Regions from separate parts of the Homo sapiens genome. Here regions 1 and 3 are each linked to region 2. The links are contacts of gene promoters, found by promoter capture Hi-C in human tissues and cell types (Jung and others, 2019). All regions are on one chromosome and are shown on one strand. The core of a region is centred on a gene start or on the middle of the fragment in contact, and the rest is flanking DNA. Distances in the headings are between cores, read along the strand shown.

Evidence for each region. Contacts are between HindIII fragments. The study calls those that stand out against the background at their distance.
Region 1: a contact is called between a fragment that was not itself captured here and the fragment with the promoter of AADAC in region 2, in 1 of the 25 tissues and cell types used here (stomach).
Region 3: a fragment that was not itself captured here is called in contact with the fragment with the promoter of AADAC in region 2 in 1 of the 25 tissues and cell types used here (H1 embryonic stem cells).

Annotation. Positions count from the first base shown.
Region 1 is chr3:151,530,925-151,533,624 of GRCh38, reverse strand. It overlaps a transcript of IGSF10 not described here. Among named protein-coding and RNA genes, the nearest start is that of LINC02066, 20 kb to the left of the region's middle. The HindIII fragment of the contact is 4,462 bases long and covers 1-2,700 here.
Region 2 is chr3:151,812,668-151,815,367 of GRCh38, reverse strand. It overlaps AADAC (arylacetamide deacetylase), which reads right to left and starts at 1,252. Exons shown (of 5, transcript NM_001086.3): 1 at 1,068-1,252. The coding sequence starts at 1,205. All of the region lies in intron 1 of AADACL2-AS1 (AADACL2 antisense RNA 1), which reads left to right. The HindIII fragment of the contact is 13,838 bases long and covers 63-2,700 here.
Region 3 is chr3:151,473,963-151,476,662 of GRCh38, reverse strand. It overlaps a transcript of IGSF10 not described here and the pseudogene MRPL42P6. Among named protein-coding and RNA genes, the nearest start is that of IGSF10, 14 kb to the right of the region's middle. The HindIII fragment of the contact is 3,256 bases long and covers 1-2,700 here.

The DNA of each region.
Region 1 (2,700 bases), core at 89-2,588, 280 kb after region 2:
GGGTCCAGTTTCAGCTTTCTGCGTATGGCTAGACAGTTTTCCCAACACCATTTATGAAATAGGGAATCCTTTCCCCATTGCTTGTTTTTATCAGGTTTGTCAAAGATCAGATGGTTGTAGATGTGTGGCGTTATTTCTGAGGCCTCTGTTGTGTTCCATTGGTCTATATATCTGTTTTGGTACCAGTACCATGCTGTTTTGGTTACTGTAGCCTTGTAGCATAGTTTGAAGTCAGAGTGATGCCTCCAGCTTTCTTTTAGCTTAGATTGTCTTGGCTATGTGGGCTCTTTTTTTGGTTCCATATGAAATTTAAAGTAGTTTTTTCCAATTCTGTGAAGAAACTCAGTGGTAGCTTGATGGGGATAGCACTGAATCTATAAATTACTTTGGCCTGTATGGCCATTTTCACGATTTTGATTCTTCCTATCCATGAGCATGGAATGTTTTCCCATTTGTTTGTGTTCTCTCTTATTTCCTTGAGCAGTGGTTGGCAGTTCTTGAAGAGGTCCTTCACATCCCTTGTAAGTTTTATTCCTAGGTATTTTATTCTCTTAGTAGCAGTTGTGAATGGGAGTTCATTTATGATTTGGCTCTGTTTGTCTGCTATTGGTGTATAGGAATGCTTATGATTTTTGCACATTGATTTTTGTATCCTGAGACTTTTCTTATCAGCTTAAGGAGATTTTGGACTGAGATGATGGGGTTTTCTAAATATACAATCATGTCATCTGCAAATAGAGACAATTTGACTTCCTCTTTTCCTAATTGAATACCCTTTATTTCTTCCTCTTGCCAATTGCCCTGACCAGAACTTTCAATACTATGTTGAATAGGAGTGTGAGAGAGGGCATCCTTGCCTTGTGCCGGTTTTCAAAGGGAATGCTTCCAGTTTTTGCCCATTCAGTATGATATTGGCTGTTGGTTTGTCATAAATAGCTCTTATTTTGAGATACATTCCATCAATGCCTAGTTTACTGAGAGTTTTTAGCATGAAGCGCTGTTGAGTGTTGTCGAAGGCCTTTTCTGCATCTATTGAGATAATCATGTGGTTTTTATCATTGGTTCTGCTTATGCGATGGATTATGTTTATTAATTTGGGTATGTTGAACTAGCCTTGCATCCCAGGGGTGAAGCTGACTTAATCTTGGTGGATAAGCTTTTTGATGTACTGCTGGATTCGGTTTGCCAGTATTTTATTGAGGATTTTTACATCAATCTTCATCAGGGATACTGGCCTGAAATTTTCTTTTTTTGTTGTGTGTCTGCCAGGTTTTGGTATCAGGATGATGCTGGCCTCATAAAATGAATTAGGATTCCCTCCTTTTCTATGGTTAGGAACAATTTCAGAAGGAATGGTACCAGCTCCTCTTGGTTACTCTGGTAGAATTCGGCTGTGAATCCGTCTGGCCTTGGACTTTTTTGTGGTGTTTGTAGGCTATTAATTACTGCCTCAATTTCAGAACTTGTTATTGGTCTGTTCCAGGATTTGACTTCTTCCTGGTTTAGTCTTGGGAGGGTGTATGTGTCCAGGAATTTGTTCTTTTCTTCTAGATTTTCTGGTTTCTTTGCATAGAGGTGTTTATAGTATTCTTTGATGGTAGTTTGTATTTCTGTGGGATCAGTGGTGATATCCCCTTTATCATTTTTTATTGCATTTATTTGATTCTTCTCTCTTGTCTTCATTAGTCTTGCTAGCGGTCTATTTTGTTGATCTTTTAAAAAAAACCAGCTCCTGGGTTCATTGATATTTTGAAGGGTTTTTCAGGTCTCTATCTCCTTCAGTTCTGCTCTGATCTTAGTTATTTCTTGTCTTCTGCTAGCTTTTGAATTTGTTTGGTCTTGCTTGTCTAGTTCTTTTCATTGTGATGTTAGGGTGTCAATTTTAGAACTTTCCTGCTTTCTCTTGTGGACATTTAGTGCCATAAATTTCTCTCTACACGCTGCTTTAGATGTGTCCCAGAGTTTCTGGTATGTTGTGTCTTTGTTCTCATTGGTTTCAAAAAACTTACTTATTTCTGTCTTCATTTCATTATTTACCAGTAGTCATTCAGGAACAGGTTGTTCAGTTCCCATGTAGTTGTGCCATTTTGAGTGAGTTTCTTAATCCTGAGTTCTAATTTGATCACACTGTGGTCTGAGAGACTGTTTGTTATGATTTCCATTTTTTTCATTTGCTGAGGAGTGTTTTACTTCCAATTATGTGTTCAGTTTTAGAATAAGGGTGATGTGGTGCTGAGAAGAATGTATGTTCTGTTCATTTTGGGTGGAGAGTTCTGTAGATGTCTATTAGGTCTGCTTGGTCCAGAGGTGAGTTCAAGTCCTGGATATCCTTGTTAACTTTCTGTCTCATTGATCTAATATTGACAGTGGGGTGTTAAAGTCTCCCACTGTTATTGTGTGGGAGTCTAAGTCTCTTTTTAGGTCTCTCAGAACTTGCTTTATGAATCTGGGTGCTCCTGTATTTGATGCATATATATTTAGGATAGTTAGTTCTTCTTGCTGGATTGATCCCTTTACCATTATGTAATGCCCTTCTTTGTCTCTTTCAATTTTTATTGTTTTAAAGTCTGTTTTATCAGATACTAGGATTGCAACCCCTGCCTTTTTTTGCTTCCCATTTGCTTGGTAAATATTCTTCCATTTCTTTATTTTGAGCCTATGTGTGTCTTTGCATGTGAGATGGGTTTCCTGAATACAGCA
Region 2 (2,700 bases), core at 3-2,502:
ACTTGTCAATATTCTGTAGCTGGGGTGTTTTTACTTGTTGGTGTCTCTGCTGGAAAACATTTTTCTTAGCACTTAGAATGGTTGGTTTCTTTTCATTCTTCTGGTCCCTAAGTAGCTGTTTCCTCTTCAGAATGGCTTTTTCTCACCATGCATACAGTAGCCCACTCTTGCCTTCTGCCCAAATTACTCTCTTTTCTTCCATCTTACCTCCTTAAAGGTACTTCTCATGAACTAAAATCATTTATTCATTTAATTCTAATTTATTTTTTTCTCCACCACTAGAATGTCAACTGTGTGGGGATAGACTACTTGTTTGCCTAATAGGATTTGAGACAGTTGAATTGTTGAATAAATGCAAAATAAAAGATTAATCCAGGAGTTACAACATTTATCTGGTTTAAGTTCTGAAAAGAGATTTGTTTTAATGAAGATAATAAAATAACCAAAGAAGTAATAGTAAAATATCATCAAGGATCCAGAGAGAGCTACACCTTTTTAATTTGCCAGCATCCAAGCTGCCCAGTTGCCAGGACACCCAGGTCTCCCTCCCCCTCTCATTTGTGCATATTGTGCCGTCTCGTGGTTAACCCTAGGCATGTGCCAACCAGCCTGCCCATTGAATCTTTTCTTGAGAACTTATTTACGTGTCCTTAGTCTATATTCTGAATCCCAAAGATAAGTGCATAAAAATCTGTAACTAACACAGTGCTGCATAATCAGATGATCTCTAATTTGAGTATAAAATTTAAGGAACAAACCATACCTAAGATAAGAATTTCAAAGGAGAGCCACTATCGTGATATTAAAGCTACCTAAACAAAGTACTTTTTAGCAAAACCTATTCAAATGACTCCTTGCTTGCTGTTCTTGATATTTTTTTAACATGATTCCAATACATAAGACAGAAAACAAACAACATTTCTAAGTAACACATTGTCAAAGGCCACAGCAGTTATTTTAAAAGATGAATAAGTCAATAAATCAAAAGAATAGAATCTTGAAAAACTTAATTCTCTGGGTCAAATGGTGGTGTATGCACATCTGAATTCATAAAATTCCAAACTTACCAAATTTTGTATAGTTTTCAGATGTGCGTTTATCCACATCATTCTCCATGGCTCCTCAACGTTATCTGGGAGAGGCGTATAAATATAATATGCTATGAGGATCCCCACAATCAGAAGGTACAGCGATTTTCTTCCCATGGTGAACGTCCCGCTTCTTGGTCTCTAGAAACACAGAAAGTAAACCTACATGATATGCCTGAATAGTGTACTTTAATAAGCAGTGTGCTTCAGCTCCACCCAAAAGCTTTGAAAACAGAGTTGCTCACTTAGTTTAAGGGTTGGCATAATAAGGCCAAAATTTTATCTGTTATCCAGATACAGTCATGTTAAGTGCAACTTCAAGGTTTAATGAGTAATAGGAAACTAGGGCAAAGTTTGTCAATGATCATGCTGTTATCTGTATTCCAATAAACAGCATGTATTGAGTAATAACTCGGGAACAAATTCTTTAACTCTAACAAAATTATCCATAGAAAACATACAGAATTCAGAATCTTTGTTTTAAAATAGCTTATCATGGAAAAAACAAATTATATATATACACACACACATATATATACATATATATGTGTGTGTGTATATATATATATTTTTTGATACAGAATCTTCCTCTGTCACCCAGGCTGAGTCCATAAGAAGCGTTTTGTGTCAATAAGTAGTTTGTTTGAGGGTGTGTTAGGCAGTGGGATTTCCATGCATTGGGAAGTGGGGACGGGGTTTAGGCAAGTGTTCCACCCTGCGATTTCTATGCAGGGCCTGTGTCAGTTATTGCAGAATCCTGATGTTTCTCCCGTGACTTGGGTCTGACGGGGGTTGGAGATTTTGAGAGTTTGTGTGGGGTTTTTTTCTGTTATTGTTTGGATGCCTGTCGGGGGAGTGAGTGTTAGGGTACAGTTGCATAAGCTAGAGGAGAGGGTGCCTAGGGGCACTCCTTTGGAAAGTTCACGCTTTATGCATAGGGATGCTGGTTGACTGAGTTCTGAGTCTGGGGTAAGTGTTCCTAAGATAACCTTGTGTTCTGCAGTATGTGTGGTAAGATTGAGTTTGTAACTTTTGAGTGCATTTACTTCTCCAAAACTTTGGTAGCGGGGGTGGAGGGTCATATTGCTGAGAACCCAGTCTTTGAGGGGAGCTGGGAAGACATCTTTTGATACGGTTTCTGAGGGGTGTACCAGCAGGCCTTGGCCAGGGAGGGGTTAGTTTGACTGAGTATCATATGTGCCTGTGGAATGGTGCGCTGTAGGTGGAGCGGTAGCGAGAAGGAGGAGGGAAGAAGGAGTAAATAGACAGAGAGCAAGTGTAAAGGTAAAGAATTCGGCTTCATCTGGAGTGAATTCCTGTAAATCCCCTTGAAATATAAGATTGGTGATCCAATCAAGGAATGCTGTGAGGGTGGGATGTTCTGGGTAGGACCATGAAAGGTTTTCTGTGATGCAGTGAAGGAAGAGTGTGAAATGCCAGGATGGGCAAAGACAGGACATTTAGGAGGGGCCACTATCTGTTGGTGGTGGCTATTATACCTGCTATGAGGAGGATTATGAGGCAAGAGGTTACGAATATTGAGTTTTTTTTGTCTGAAATTCCACCCAGGAGGCAAGACAGTATATATTCCTATGGCAAAGAGTAGAGTAAG
Region 3 (2,700 bases), core at 47-2,546, 340 kb after region 2:
GCCTGAAAGCTTAAGGAGATGAATTAACTCCTCCCTTCTCAGGCCCAGTCCCAAGGCGCAAGGCCACTTGGTGTCAGCAGTGTGTGTCAGCAAGATAGCAGAAGCAGGAAGAGAGCTGGCCGGAAGATACCTCCTCTGGCCGGAAGATACCCCTGAAGATCGAGAAAGAGGCCATCCGGGTACAATGTAGCAGTTACGTCAGACTAGGATGCTTCCTGTTTATAGGAGACTATAAAACTTTTGCCCCATCCTCATTTGGGGCAGAGGCCTATTAGGCCTCAGCCCACCTACACCCAGGCGCTCATTAAAACAGCATGTTTCTCCACACCTATTCGTGTTGTCTGTTGGCACACTCTCAGGGTTCAAACCGATACAAGAACCTTACAGTGAGGAATCGTCAAGGGATGAAAATTGGTATGTCTTAGAGGCAGTTTAAAAGCAGTTTCCTTCAAAACATATTTTTATACCACTTTATAAGTATCTCAATACATCATAGCAGTAGCAGCAGTAAAATAGGTGATATCACAGAGAATTATTTTGAAACATTTCCAATCCAAATGTTTGGACTGGAACTGTCCAAATCCAAAGATACACTATGACAGACATAGTGTATCTGTCATAAATGTAAGTAGTCTTCTCCACCAGATGACTATAATTGCAAAGTCGAGTTTGATGTGATGTCTGATGGCACCCTTCTATGGACATTCCATATGAACATACAAAACATATCTCTTGACTAGATCCTGTGCATAATAATGAAGAAACACATGATCTAGGGCTGAAAACCAGATTAGAAGAAAAAGCTGAACACCTTGAGCAAGGACTCATGACAATTTAGCAAAATGTTCTTTACTACTAAGCACTGTTAAAAGAAAACGTCAGACAAAGTAAATTTAACGAAGTTTAATTGAGCAAGAAAAAAAAAGATTTATGAATCAAGCAGCCCCCAAAATCACAGCAGATTCAGAGAGATTCCAGGGATTCCTCATGGTCAGAACAAACTTACAGACAAAAAAAGGACATGCAGAAATCAGAAGTGAGGTACAGAAACAGCTGGACTGGTTACAAGTTGGCATTTGCCTTACTTGAACACAGTTTGAACACTCAGCAGTGTATGAGTGGTTGAAGTATAACTGCTAGGATAGGCCAAATGTTACAGGCATATACTCCTAAGTTAGGTTTTCAATCTTGTTTACCTATTAAGTTAGGTTATGGTTCATCCCCAAGGACTCTAATATAGAAGCATGAAATCCTTCTCAGGCCATATTTAATTTGCATTAACATTTCCCCCCTTTTGGTTAACCTCTCAATTTAGAGAGATTGACCAAAACTTTAGGCATTGACACCAGTCTCTCTCACAATCGAAAAGACTTATTTGGTCTGTGTGTTTACAAGTCCTCTTTAGTTTTAGTAAGGAGCTTCACATGTCTTCTTGGGTGTCAATATGAAATTCACAAGTCACATCTTTTTTCCAGCTGAATGAATCTTTATGTTCTTGCTGACCCATTTGGAGTGAGACTATTAACTCTCAATGGATGGCTATATACAAAACATTTAAGACTTAAGAGGATACAGTACACCAGGGGGGCTATTACTGTGACTATCAAGAGAATAATATCAAAATGCCTAAGACATGCTCCTTAATAAGAGTTCTGATATGGTTTGGCTGTGTCCCCACCTAAATCTCATCTTGAAATCCCACATATTGTGGGAGGGACCCAGTGGGAGGTAATTGAATCATGGGGGAAAGTCTTTCCCATGTTGTTCTCATGATAGTGAATAAGTCTCACAAGATCTGGTGGTTTTGGAAAGAGGAGTTCCCCTGCACAAGCTCTCTCTTTGCCTGCTGCCATCCACATAATATGTGACTTGCTCCTTCTTGCCTTCTGCCATGATTGTGAGGCTTCCCCAGCCATGTAGAACTGTAAGTCCAATTAAACCTCTTTCTTCTGTAAATTGCCCAGTCTTGGGTATGTCTTTATCAGCAGTGTGAAAATGGACTAATATGAACTGAACCAAATTAACCAAGTTAAGGTTTATACAATATAGGCAGTTCAACAATATTAGGGTCTAATTGGTCCTAGTCCTCATTTGGAGTGTGAGAGCGACTAAGGACCATAGTTCGCTGGAAAGTAGCCTAATTTAAAGAGGTACTCATTTTCCTTGTTACCCTGGTGTAATACAAATCATAATAACTTGGAAACTTATTGGAAGAAATATAAAGATTAGAAACCCTTGGAAAACCCAAGCGTATCATCCACCACTTAGGATTATGTGCAAACCAACTGTCAGTTGCTCCTGTAAACACATCATGGGTTCCTTTCTCTTGAGAGATTTCTTTAAGGTATTTGGTAGTAGTGTCTAAGGAAACAGCAGTATCACCCACCTTTTAAATTAAGCTTTCTGTAGTAACGAAATCAGGGGTGAGATAAGTACAACATTCAGTTCTGTTTAACACCAAACGTATGCCTTCAGCTTGAGCAAAATATCTAAAGCTGCATGATGTTCCATTAAGTGCTTGTTTTGAATGTGTATGTTGTCATCTACTTTTCAGAGAGTAGCTTTTACCCATCTGAAACTCTAGGAGGTCTAATTGGCTACAAAATCTAAGATTTTCCCCAATTCACAAATTAGCTTTAAATTCCATACAACTGATACCCCACTACCACCAAGAGTGAGCCCCCAGGAGCCCCACTGGAA